2 separate regions of the Homo sapiens genome follow, and region 2 is linked to region 1. Evidence: promoter capture Hi-C in 16 types of primary human blood cells and fetal thymus (Javierre and others, 2016). All regions are on one chromosome and are shown on one strand. The core of a region is centred on a gene start or on the middle of the fragment in contact, and the rest is flanking DNA. Distances in the headings are between cores, read along the strand shown. Region 1 holds the start of CEP72 (centrosomal protein 72). Region 2 overlaps BRD9 (bromodomain containing 9).

Region 1 (5,997 bases), core at 1,972-4,471:
GTTCAAAGCAATGGATAGGAAAAGATACGCCATGCAAAAACCAATCAAAAGAAGCTACCGTAACAACAGTAATATCAAATAAGACAGATGTCTCAACAAAGAAAATTACCAGGAAAAAAGAGGAACAAGGCCCAGGCACCGTGGCTCACACTTGTAATCCCAGCACTTTGGGAGCCCAGCAGAGATCACCTGAGGTCAGGAGTTCGAGACTAGCCTGGCCAACATGGTGAAACCCCGTCTCTACTAAAAATACAAAAATTAGGCAGGCGTGATGGCAGGCGCCTGTAATCCCAGCTACTCGGGAAGCTGAAGCAGAGGAATCATGTGAACCCGGGAGGCAGAGGTTGCAGTGACCCAAGATCGTGCCACTGCACTCCAGCCTGGGGGACAAGAAGGAAACTCTGTCTCAAAAAAAAAAAAAAAAAAGAGGAAGACTACATATACTAAAAGGGTCAGTCCACTAAGAAGGTATAAAAATCCTAGCTATGTAATTCAACAAACAGAGCTTCAAAACATACAAAGTGAAAAAAAAAACAGACAAATCCACAATTACAGTTAAGGGTTCCAGACCCCTCTCTCAGTCATTAATAGAGTCACTAGACAGAAAATCAGCAAGGATACAGAAGAACTGAACAATATCACCAACCAACAGGATCTAATTGATATTTATGTATTTACATAACACTCCACTCAACAACAGAATACACACACACTCAAGTGCACCTGGAACATTCAACAACATAGACCAGATGCTGGATCATAAAACAAACCCTGACAAATTTAAAAGAATTAAAATCATACAGATTATGTTCTGGCCATAATGGAATCACACAGAAAAATAACAGGAAAATATCCACACATGGAACGTTAAAAACATACTCCTTAAAAATCCACAGGTCAGGCCGGGCGCGGTGGATCATGCCTGTAATCCCAGCACTTTGGGAGGCCGAGGTGGGCGGATCATGAGGTCAGGAGTTCCAGCTACTCGGGAGGCTGAGGCAGGAGAATGGCATGAACCCAGGAGGCAGAGCTTTCAATGAGCCAAGATTGCGTCACTGCACTCCAGCCTGGGTGACAGAGCGAGACTCCACCTCAAAAAAAAAAAAAAAAAAAAAATTCACAGGTCAAACAGGAAGTATCGAGGGAAATTCTTAAAATACGCTGAACTGGATGAAAATTAAAATACAACATAACAAAATTTGTGGATACAGCTAAAGCAGTGCTTACAGGGAAACTTGTGGCACTGTTTATAATAGAAAATAGGAAAGTCTCAAATCAATAATCTACAGTTTTGCCTCAAGGATTTAGAAAAGTATAAAATAAATGCAAAGCAAGCAGAAAGAAGGAAATAAAAAAAAGCAGAAATCAATGAAATTTGAAACTAGAAAAACACTGGAGAAAAATCAAACCCAAAGTCGGTTCTTTGAAACTATCAATAACATTCACAAGCCTCTAGCAAGACTAAAAAAGAAAGAATACACAGATTATCAACATCAGGAACAGAAAAGGGATATCCCTGTAAACCTTGTAGCACTAATCAGGGAAGAAGGGAGGACTCGGCATGTCCCGAGGTCAGCTGCCCTCTCACCTGCTTCCTCAGAGCCCTGTGGTGCCTACTGCCTCAGGATCACTTGGATTTTGTCACGAGGTTACAGTTCCCCTTAACCACTCTACAGATAATAACCTGGACATTATAAACCGTTAAGTTTTCCATTTGAGATATTCTTTCAGGACCTGGGGACTGATGCCAGCTGGTCTAAAGGGCCCCGCAAGCGGATTCACCAAAGAATGCAGTTTCCACACCCTGATAATTCCATGGCCCTTACCTCCACCAACTGACAACACCAATCTTCCAGCTCCTCACAGTCCTGTTCCTCTAAAACCCCCAGCTCAGGCTGGGTGTAGGTGGCTCATGCCTGTAATCCCAGCACTTTGGGAGGCCAAGGCAGGTGGATCACCTGAGATCAGGAGTTCAAGACCAGCCTGGCCAACATGGTGAAACCCCGTCTCTACTAAAAATATAAAAAATTAGCCGGGCATGGTGGCGCGTGCTTGTAATCCCAGCTACTCAGGAGGCTGAGTGAATCACTTGAACCTGGGAGGTGGAGGTTGCAGTGAGCTGAGATTGTGCCACTGCACTCCAACCTGGACGACAGAGTGAGACTCCGTCTAAAAAAAAAAAACCGCTCAGATCTCCTTGGGGAGATGGATTGAGGCCTCCTTCCACCTCCCTGCTGGGCCCCTGCCAGCCTTAAACTCTTTCTCTGCTGCAAACCCCACTGTCTCAGTGTATTGGCCTGTGGCCCCCACAGCACCTGACTGAACCTGTTGGTCCAGTAACACCTGCAGACCACACACAGACATTAACAGGCTAACAACAGAACACCAGAAACAACTCAACACACACACTCCACAAGTTAGCTCAAATAAGCCAATGCCACAAAACCCCACACAGCCAAGACTCGCGGTGAACTAATATGAACGGTTCTCTAACAACCAGAGATACAGAATTTGTCATTTAAAAGCTTCAAAAACAGAAATTGACATGTCCATATGGTTTCACTGGAAAATTCCAGGAAACATTCAAACAATGAGCACACACTCTACAGAACCTCTTCTAAATATAAGAGAAGGCAACACTTCTCAGCAGTTTATGAGCTCGGCTTCACCTTGACGCCAAAACCAGACAAAAATAAGCCAAAAAGAAGGAAACCGGCCACCAACATCCTCAAGAAGGCCGAGCGCAACAATCACCACAGAGTGGGCCCAGGAGAACCAGGGAGGTGATCCCCAGCGGGAGGGCGGGCTGCGCTCCTGGACAGCAAGGCCGGCTCCCTCTTCTCAGCGGATGTAACCCCCAGTCACGGAACCAGTGACCCGATAGACAGGCAGGGGCCGGGACGCCGGGACCCGAACGCGGGCAGGGGCCGCACCTGGGCACGGGGGGTGGGTCGCTCACCTGGACACGCGCGCCCCGCTCGCCCGCGACCGTTCCGGACGCCCGCGGCGCCTGCGTAGACGGGTCCCGCCTGCCCACGGTCCGCCGCCGCCCCGGGAAGCTCGGCACCCACCCCCCCGCCACCTCACGCTTGCACCCCCGCCCGCCCTCCGGCGCACCCAGGTCGCGGTGAGGCCCTAAGCCGCTCTTCGCCCGAACCGCCTCCTCGCTCAGCACCAGCCGAGGGCCAGCCCGCGCCATGTTTCAAACGGAGCCCTCGGACGGCGCCTGCGCGGCGGGCGGGGCGAGGCTACGAGAGGGGCGGGACCTGCGTCGGCAGAACCGAGAGCCTGGCGGGACGGGGCGGGGCCTGCGCGGCGGGGCGAGGGGCGTGGCTGGGGGAGGGGGCGGGACTGCGTGGGCGGAACCAAGAGCCTGGCGGGGGGTTCTCCTGAATGGCGGTTCTCCCAGGTACTGGCCACGCGACCCCAGCCCCCGCCCCAGATAGCTCCCTGTCAAGGCTTCCCTGGGCGCGGCCGCCTTCTAGGCCCCGGCCCTTGACACACGCGGTGTCCTCCCGGGGAAACCCCGAGTAGGCGCGGTGGAATCGCGGCTGGTGGTGGGCATGGGGACCCTGCCCCATCCACACTCCGCTCCCACCCTGAACCCAGCGCCCCCGGGGACCCCCGACTCACCTAGACTCCCCACCCAACCCGACCCCCCCGCGGGGACCCCTCCAGACACCCCAGCACCCGCCCGGAGCCTTGTCTGCTGCACCTCCCGTCCAGCCCCGGGCCTCCCAGAGGTGGGCGGGAGCTGAGCTTCTCCCCAGCCAGTCACTCCCCACGGCCGGTCCTTCTCCACCCCAGAACCTCCAGAGATGTCACAGGCCCAGCACTGTGGCTCGTGGCTGACCGCGCCCTGGAGGGTCTCGCTGTGTTTATCCTTGTGAGGTCCTTCTACAGAGCTTTCAAGGAAGACAGAGTTCAGCCTGTTTATTGGGAAGACTTTAATCCTGCTCAAGACATCTACTGTGTCACCGTACCACTGTGGCCCAGCGCCTGGTGGAGTGAATCCAGACCCCCAGGGGTGTCCCCTCCCCGCCTTTCTCCTGGTGTCTAGGGGCACCCAGAAACCCTCACCCCAGATTAGACCAGCTCGTTGGCAACATCCCTGGTATGTCACAGCCTGGGGGGTGATAGACAAGGCAGGGTAGTGGTGGGGGGTACGTATGGTGGTAGTAGACGAGGGTATACACAGACAGAGGGTGTACATGGGGAATGTGTGCAGGGGCTGTGTGCAGGGAGTGTGTGTGGATGGTGTAGGGGAGTGTGTAGGGGAGTGTGTAGGGGGTGTGTGCAGAGGTTGTACACGGGGTGTGCAGGAGGTGTACTCAGAATGTGTTCAGGGAGTGTGTGCAGAAGGTGTACATGGGGTGTATGCAGGAGGAGTGTGCAGAGGGTGTACATGTAGGGGGTGTGTGCAGACAGTATACAGAAGGGGTGTGTGCAGAGGATGCACACAGGGTCTCTGCAGGGAGTATGTGCAGTGCTGTACATAAGGAGTATGCAGGGGGTATATACAGGGTGTATGTGCAAGGGGTGTGTGCAACAGTGTGTGCAGGAGGTGTGTGCAGGGTCTATGTGTGGGGGTGTGTGCAACAGTGTGTGCAGGAGGTGTGTGCAGGAGGTGTGTGCAGGAGCTATGTGTGGGGGTGTGTGCAACAGTATGTGCAGAGGTGTGTGTAGGGGCTATGTGTGGGGGTGTGTGCAACAGTGTGTGCAGGAGGTGTGTGCAGGAGGTGTGTGCAACAGTGTGCAGGGGGTGTACACAAGGTGTGTGCAGGAGGTGTGTGTAGATGTGTGTGCAGGAGGTATACACAGGGTTTGTGCAGAGGATGTGTGTGGGAGGTGTGTGCAGGGGATCTGTGCAGGGAGTGTACACAGGCTGTGTGCAGAGGCTATGTGCAGGGGGTGTGTGCAACAGTGTGCAGGGAGTGTACACAAGGTGTGTGCAGGAGGTGTGTGCAGAGGTGTGTGCAGGAGGTATACATGGTGTGTGAAGGTATGTGTAGAGGTGTGTGCAGGGGGTATACACAGGGTTTGTGCAGAGGATGTGTGAGGGAGTTGTGTGCAGGGGATCTGTGCAGGGAGTGTACACAGGCTGTGTGCAGGGGGTATGTGCAACAGTGTGCAGGGGGGGTGTGTGCAGAGGTGTGTGCAGGGGGTGTACACAGAGGGTGGTGGCAGGCGGTGGATGCAAGGCTGCATCTGTTCAGCCCAAGACGTTCCATTGGTCCAGTGGTGTTAGAGCACATTTGGTCAGGTTGCCTTCATGGGATATTTGACAAGCTGCAAACCCGAGGGCATGCTGGTGCCCGAGGGCGCCTCCGTGCTGACCTCAGCATGTGCAGCAAGAGCCAGGGCACAGGGGCGGCCTGGCCCATTTCAGGCAGGTGCTCTGTGGGAGGGTGGCTGTCTCCACTGACAACCCAGGGAGGTCAGCAAGGAGGAGCCCTGAGGTGGACTCGAAAGCTGTGGGAGCTGATGGCCCTCCTGGTCTCTGCCACAGCCCTTAGGCTGTGGGACACACAGCGTCACATTTGATCACTGTTCATGGGGCCTGCCGAACACTCAGCATTCCTGAGTGCAGATCGTCACGTAACTTTCCAAAAATTGCAAACCCAGATATGGCTCCATGACCCCTCCTGCAAGACTGTGAAGGAGTTCAGGGCACAGCTGAGCCCTCACACCCCCAGCCCCATCACTGCCCCTGATATGCACTGAGTGGAATTCTGTCCCGCCAGGAGACAAACAGTGGACAGCATCCTGGCTCTTCAGAAGCACATGACGATGGCAAACTGAAGGCCTCATGGGCCCTCACCCAACAGCAGTGGCTTTTCAGGGCATAACACAGGCCCCAAACACTGAGCCTCTTCCTCCTGGGCAGGTACCCAGCTGGCCAGACAGGGCAGGGTAGGGGCGAGTGGGACCTCAGTGGGCAGCCGGTCCAGGACAGAACCACACGGGGATGTGATGGAAGTACCAATGGGAACTTTG
Region 2 (6,595 bases), core at 3,005-5,504, 260 kb before region 1:
AGAACGCATCAGGTTCCATGTTGCCGTGAAGAAAGATCATTCTGACCCCGCCTGCCTTGTGGCTGCAGGGGCAACACTCAGAAGCACATCTCCTAGGGCCTGGCATGAGGCTACGTGGTCCCATGCCAGCCTCAGCGCACAGACACCCAGATCCTCTGCCCCTGAGTGCTGCTTCCGTGCACGCTGCGAGTGCCGAGCTTGGCCTGTCCCGGGCTGTGGGTGTTTTAACAAAGACACGGAGTCTCCCTGTTGCCTCCTGTGACCGTGGTTCAGCTTCTGACCAGCAGCCATCCTTGTTCCTCTCTGTGAAGGTCTTTGGAGTCTGGGGAGCCCTTCTGAGGCGCTTGCTTGGTGCTTTGATTCTAAGACTATGCATTTTTGTTCCTGGCCTACTTTTTAGATTGTATTATATTTTATTTTTTAAGCTGTTTCATGTATATGGCCAAGAATCAGGATGGTACTAAAAGGAGTGCCTTGGAAGTGTCGGCCCACCCCTGCCCCACGCGCCCATTCCTCACCGGCAGGCACTGCCCACTGGTGTGCTTCTGTCCACACCCACTTGTGTTTTTAAACGCATAACGAGTGGAAAGATAGGAGTATTCTTTTACAGATGATAACATAGCACACGTGTGTTTCTAGGCTGTGTGCATGTGTATTCATGCTTTTCTCCCTCTCCCCACTGAGATCTTTTTAACCTTTTTGGGTCATGGACCACTTTGAAAATCTAATGAAAACTATCAGCCACTCCCCACAAAATACCCGCTCTGGGAGGGTCACGGGGACCGAGGAGCTGCGCTGGCACGGCAGGCTTCTGTGATCAGGGCTGCCGCGAGGGCCAGGCGACAAGGGCTCCTTTCAGCGTACCTTCTCCCGCGGCCCCTCTAGCCTGCAGGAGTTTGTGAAGGATGCTGGGAGCTACAGCAAGAAAGTGGTGGACGACCTCCTGGACCAGATCACAGGCGGAGACCACTCTAGGACGCTCTTCCAGCTGAAGCAGGTGGGCTGCACTCGCACCGGGGTTGGGGGGCAGGTGCCCTTGGGGTGCTGCTGGCGGGAAGAGCCTGCAGCCTGACCAGGCTTTCGGGGACGAGGAGCTGTCGCAGGGACTCTGCTGCCGGCTCCTCGTCAGGATCTGCGTGCTTCTCTGCACGGGCAGGTGTCCCCCGGAGACCGTGACTGTGTGCTCACCACTCCCAGCGCACTCGTAACTCTCTATTTCCATCTTCATCTTTCATCTCTGTCACTTTCCTTCATCCTGAAGAGTTTAAAAAAATATTTCCTGTAGTTCAGATTTACTGACAGTGATCTCTCAGCATTGGCTTCTCTGAAAGTCTTTATTTCATCTTCATTTTTGAAATTCATTTTCCCTGTGTATGGAATTTTAGATGACCTTTTTTCCCATCTACTGTAAAATAGGTTTGACTTGCATTGTTGCTATAAAAAAGCATCTGGGCCAAGCATGGTGGCTCACACTTGTAATCCCAGCACTTTGGGAGGCCGAGGCGGGCAGATCCAAGGTCAGGAGGTCGAGACCATCCTGGCTAACACGGTGAAACCCCGTCTCTACTAAAAAATAGAAAAAATTAGCTGGGCGTGGTGGCAGGTGCTTGTAGTCCCAGCTACTCGGGAGGCTGAGGCAGGAGAATGGCATGAACCCGGGAGGCAGAGCTTGCAGTGAGCCGAGATCATGCCACTGCACTCCAGCTTGGGCCACAGAGCCAGACCCCATCTCCAAAAAAAAAAAAAAAGCGTCTGAAGTCATTGTCATCTTTGTTTCCCACATGTGACGTGTCTTTTCGGCCAGATCTGACCTGAAGTCTGCTTTTGTACAGACCACAAGCCAGGAATGTCTTTTACATCTTTAAAAGGGTGTTTACAGAAAAGAAAAGGAAGAAGAAGATGCTTCGGGCAGCGTGTGGCTCACAGAGCCTCGGCTGCTCACTCCCGGGCCCTCGGCAGGACGGGATCTGGCCGGTGCTCTAGGAGCTTTTGAACTTTTATCTTTCTTTATCAGTGATTTTCAGCATTGTATTTTCCAGGTGCCTTGGTGGGCTTTTCTTTGTGTTCTACTTAGCATTTGTTGTTTCTTGGATCTGTCTGTAGTTTTCATCATATTTGGAAGATTTTTAGCCATTACTCAAATGTCATTTTCCACCACTGCCTCTTCCTCCTCCTGCTGGACTGTGGCACTCTGAGGACAGCTCGTGTTATCTCACATGGCACCGACACTGTGCTGCCGCACCAGGCTGCTGCAGATTAGTTTCTGATGCTGTTGGCTAAGTTCACTCACCTGTTCTCTGGCCACACCTGAACCTGTTATCCCAGATCAGTTTTCACTGATGATGTCGTCCCGCGCTGCTCATCACTTGGGCTCCATTTGCTGCTTTTGTGTATCTTCTCTCATGTTGTGTGTATGTTTTTCCTTACATCCTTGAGCCACGTTCGTATTTATTGCTGCTGCTTTTGAAGTCCTCAGTCACTGAGTCTGTCGCCTCTGCCGTTTCCGGTTCTGTTTCTGTTTGACACTTTGCTGCACTTGGAGCTGTGGGCCATTGTGCACGTGCCTGGTGGACAGTCCTGACCCTCGCTGTCTGATAAAAAAGCACTGGCCACATGGCCGCTGGGAAATTTGAATGTGGCCAGTCTGAATTTAGATGTGATGTGTGAGCTACAAACTAGATCTTAAAAAACTAATGCAAAAAACGTAAAAATATGAGTAACGATTTCTTATGGCCCACATGTTGGAATAAAAACATCTTCAATAAATTTGTCTAAGTAAAATGCATTAGTTAATTGAATGTTAAGAGTAATTTTAATGTGGCAGCTAGAATTTTAAGAGCTGGGTATGGTGGCATGCACCTGTCATCAGCTCCACAGGAGGCTAAGGTGGGAGGATCACTTGAGGCCGGGAGGTCGAGGCTGCAGTGCGATTGCACCACCGCACTCTAGGCAATAGAGCAAGACCCTGTCTCAAAAAAAAGATAAAAAAACATTTAGAACGAGGCGTGTGCTCGCGTTATGTCTGCTGGGCAAGGCTGATCTGGGTTCTTTCTCTCTTTCAGAGAATACTGATGATCATTTTGGCAGTTGTTACTTGTGGATAATGGCCGGATCCTACCAGGCTTGTCTGGGGTGGGTCCAGGGCAGCCTTATTCTAGGGTTCGTGTAGCCTTAATGCTAAGGAGTGGCCCTTCGGGGAGCCCTGTCTTTTCAGCGTGGTCTCTGCTGTGGGTGGAGTTCGGATGAGTCTCTGTCCTTCCCAGGCTCTGAGAACGTTTGGCTCATGGCTCCCAAGGAGGGGTCAGTCCCTTGACCTGACGGTTTCATCTGTGCTTGTTACAGATGAACTGGGGTCCACATGCCTGGTGCAGTAAACCCAGACACCCATGCCGAGGTTTTGTCATAGAAAGGACGTGTGTATTTGCAGGGCGCCAAGCAAGGTGGGCCAGGAGGCTCATGTATAAATCCTGGCCTCCCCCACTGGCTACAGGCAAGGCTTGTAAAGCGGGGGTAGATCTCAGGAAAGCAGAACTGAAAGGCAGAGTCGTGCATAAGGACACAGAGGTTACATGTCGGCTTGGCCTAGAAGGGCGGTATCTGCAAGCAGGGCCTTATAGGTTATAGGTGGATTCAAAGGTTTTCTGATTTGCAGCTGGTTAAGGAGGAGAAGCTTTGTTTAAAAATTTGGGGTGAAGAGAAAAGAATGTTAGCTTAGGCTTGTGGGTGTGGCTTCCTCCAGGCCCGTCAGGAAGAAATTCAGAACAAAGAACGGGGTCAGAGCTCAGTCTTCAGTTTCTCCTTATCTGAGCCCTTCATGCCAGTAGATTAGTTTGTTGGGGAGGTCCTAGGTGGAGGGTCCAGGTTTCTGAAAGACAACTCAGGGATATACATTAAGATGTTATCTTTACTTTCTTTCTTTTTTTTTCTTTTTGAGACATAGAGTCTCACTCTGTCACCCAGGCTGGAGTGCAGTGGCGTGATTGTGGCTCACTGCAACCTCTGCCTCCCTGATTCTAGCGATTCTCCTGCCTCAGCCTCCCGAGTAGCTGGGATTACAGGCATGCGCCACCACACCTGGCTAATTTTTGTATTTTTAGTAGAGGCGGAGTTTCGCCATGTTGGCCAGGCTGGTCTTTAACTCCTGACCTCAAATGATGCATCCATCTCAGCCTCCCAGAGTGGTAGGATGTTGTCTTTTCTTTCTACAGGGAACAGTGCTGGGAGGTTGTCTTTACTTTCTACAGGGAACAAACATCTGTCTCCACCTTCCTTGACTGTTGTTTTAGGATACTGTTACCTTCTTGCTTATCAAGTCGCTGATTTACTTCTCAGAGTTATCTAAGTAACTGGAATTTCCCTTGAAGGAACTCAAGATTTTCCTTGATTTCCATGCTTGGAGGGCTCGCAGGCCCCTGAAGAGAGGGTTGCAGCCAGGCGGGAGTCCCCAAGCAGATTTCTGCAGCTCTGAGGAGCAGCCCCCTCTGCAGAGCCTGCCCCACCAGCTCGTGGTTCTGACTCTGAGCTCTGGTCACCCTCCCGTGTCGTGGCCTGCAGGCTCCTTCCAGGCAGGAAGCTGGCCCCCCCAACACAGCGTTAGAATCAGGCATTGCTGTGGGGTAGGGAAAGTGACCCCCTCACAGCCCGGAAATGGGAAGGCTCTGTGGTTTCCTCTCTGGGTTCCAGTTAGATTCCTTTCGGGAAAGTGAACTTGGATATGGAGTTGAGTGACCCCGAGTGCACCCCCGCAGTAAATGATGCTCAGGACTAAAGTGACTGAAGGCTTTTGGGGAAACAGATGCGAACAAAACAGCAGTATTCATTTTCTAATTAAAAGCTTGTGAAAATCGATGTCATTGAATCTGAGAAACATTATTTCGAACAAAGATCACACATGATAGAGTGCATATACTACAGCATCGCTCCACCGGAGCACAGGACGGGTGTGCCACGGAGGCCGACAGTTGTGGAAGGAGACAATGCACGGCCCGGCCCACCTGCTGCAGGCACCGCCAGGAGGTGTCTGCCTCCTTCGCTCCTGCGCCCACGGCAGGCCCACCTGCCACAGGCACTGCCAGGAGGTGTCTGCCTCCTTTGCTCCTGCACACACCTGCCCCTGCAGGACTCGAGCTGGTCTCAGGCAACTGGTCATATTCCAGGTGGAACCCACGAGACCCTTCTTATCCTAAGCTTCCCATAGGATCTAGGCACATCTTTTTTCTTTTGTTTTAAGCCACCCAAGGCTGCCGAAACAGCATCGGCGTCCTCTCTCTGTCCGCTCCATCTCGCCCTGTGGAGCGCTGTCCCCGGCACACAATCCTGGCGCTGAGGAGGGGGCTGGGCGTGGTTGGGTCAGTGACTGGTGATGAAGAAGGTTTGGAGGACCCCCAGCCTTAATCCATTAAGATGGTGTGACTGGGGAGCAGAATTCGCAGAAGCGCACAAGCCATTTTTACGTGTGTGTAATGTCAGCGAATTGTCCGTTTCTATGAAATCACTCTGGAAAAACTAGTTTCTGTCCTCATTTACTTTTCAGAGAAGAAATGTTCCCATGAAGCCTCCAGATGAAGCCAAGGTAAGTTTTTGAACATGGAAGGGCAAGCCAAATATTATTCTCACAGGGAAAGTTGTATCCAGCCTTTGAGGTGGGGAGGTCTGTGTGTATGACGGCGTTTAGAAATGGAGTCCGTTTCTGATCAGTAAGATCAATAGTGTTTCTCCTCCTCTTTTCATGACTTGAGGTGAGTGGTGTGAAGCCGCAGTACATTCTTCCAAATCCAGAAATGGGTAGTTTCAGAGCAGTTGGCCCCGCTGGGTGCTGTCCTTGTGGGACACCCTTGCAAGGGTTGGGCAGGATGGGCCTTCTCAGGACCTGCTTGGTGAGTAGCAGGTGTTGTCCCAAGCACAGTGGGCTCTGGGGCCAGTGCTGGCAGGGCAGTGCTGTGAGCCCAGACTGCTGCACCTGCCGATTGGCAGGTGTGTGTCTCTGACAGTCAGCAGGCATGGGCTTGGGCTTTGGTCCAGGGTCCCTGGGAACCTGGAGAGACCCCTTAACATCTGTTTGAGGGCAGAGGCCGAGCTGCAGGGAGCTGATGAGAGAGTATGTGTTAGGGTGGCTGTAGTCTAGCCCTGAGGACACGCCTTGCTGGGAAAGGAAAGGGAACGTTGTGTGCTCTGTGAAGTGCCTGAGAAATAGTCCTGGACCCTAAAATTCTGTGTGTCTTCCTGTTGCATAATGTCCCTCCCCAATTTCTTTAGCCCCAAAAAGTTAACAAAGGATTGTTAGTTTGCGTTGTTGGTCTCAGTAGGTTTTTCTTTGACATGGATTTGCATATCCATTCATGAGCTCCAACCTGACAGTCCCTTGAACAGCAGCCTCAGTGAACAGGGCTTGGTCTTGTCACTTACTGAGGGGTGGGTTCACGTTTAGCAAATAATTAGAGTGATTTCAATAGCGAGTGTGAAGTAACATTTCGTTTTTCGTTTGATGTTTGAATTGCTCTTGATGTGTGTCTGTCTCCACAGGTTGGGGACACCCTAGGAGACAGCAGCAGCTCTGTTCTGGAGTTCATGTCGATGAAGTCCTATCCCGACGTTT

What was found. The method cuts DNA at HindIII sites, captures the fragments that hold promoters and counts their contacts. A CHiCAGO score of 5 or more calls a contact.
Region 2: a fragment that was not itself captured here is called in contact with the fragment with the promoter of CEP72 in region 1 in 1 of 17 cell types (endothelial precursors); the score reaches 5.4 in endothelial precursors.

What each region holds. Positions count from the first base shown.
Region 1 is chr5:609,564-615,560 of GRCh38, reverse strand. It overlaps CEP72 (centrosomal protein 72), which reads right to left and starts at 3,221. Exons shown (of 12, transcript NM_018140.4): 1 at 3,118-3,221. The coding sequence starts at 3,199. It overlaps CEP72-DT (CEP72 divergent transcript), which reads left to right and starts at 3,351. Exons shown (of 3, transcript NR_103444.1): 1 at 3,351-3,409; 2 at 3,808-4,114. RefSeq lists enhancers at 2,438-3,367, 3,368-4,298. The HindIII fragment of the contact is 7,839 bases long and covers 2,528-5,997 here.
Region 2 is chr5:870,503-877,097 of GRCh38, reverse strand. It overlaps BRD9 (bromodomain containing 9), which reads left to right. Exons shown (of 16, transcript NM_023924.5): 12 at 886-997; 13 at 5,534-5,572; 14 at 6,523-6,595. Among named protein-coding and RNA genes, the nearest start is that of BRD9, 19 kb to the left of the region's middle. The HindIII fragment of the contact is 1,164 bases long and covers 3,673-4,836 here.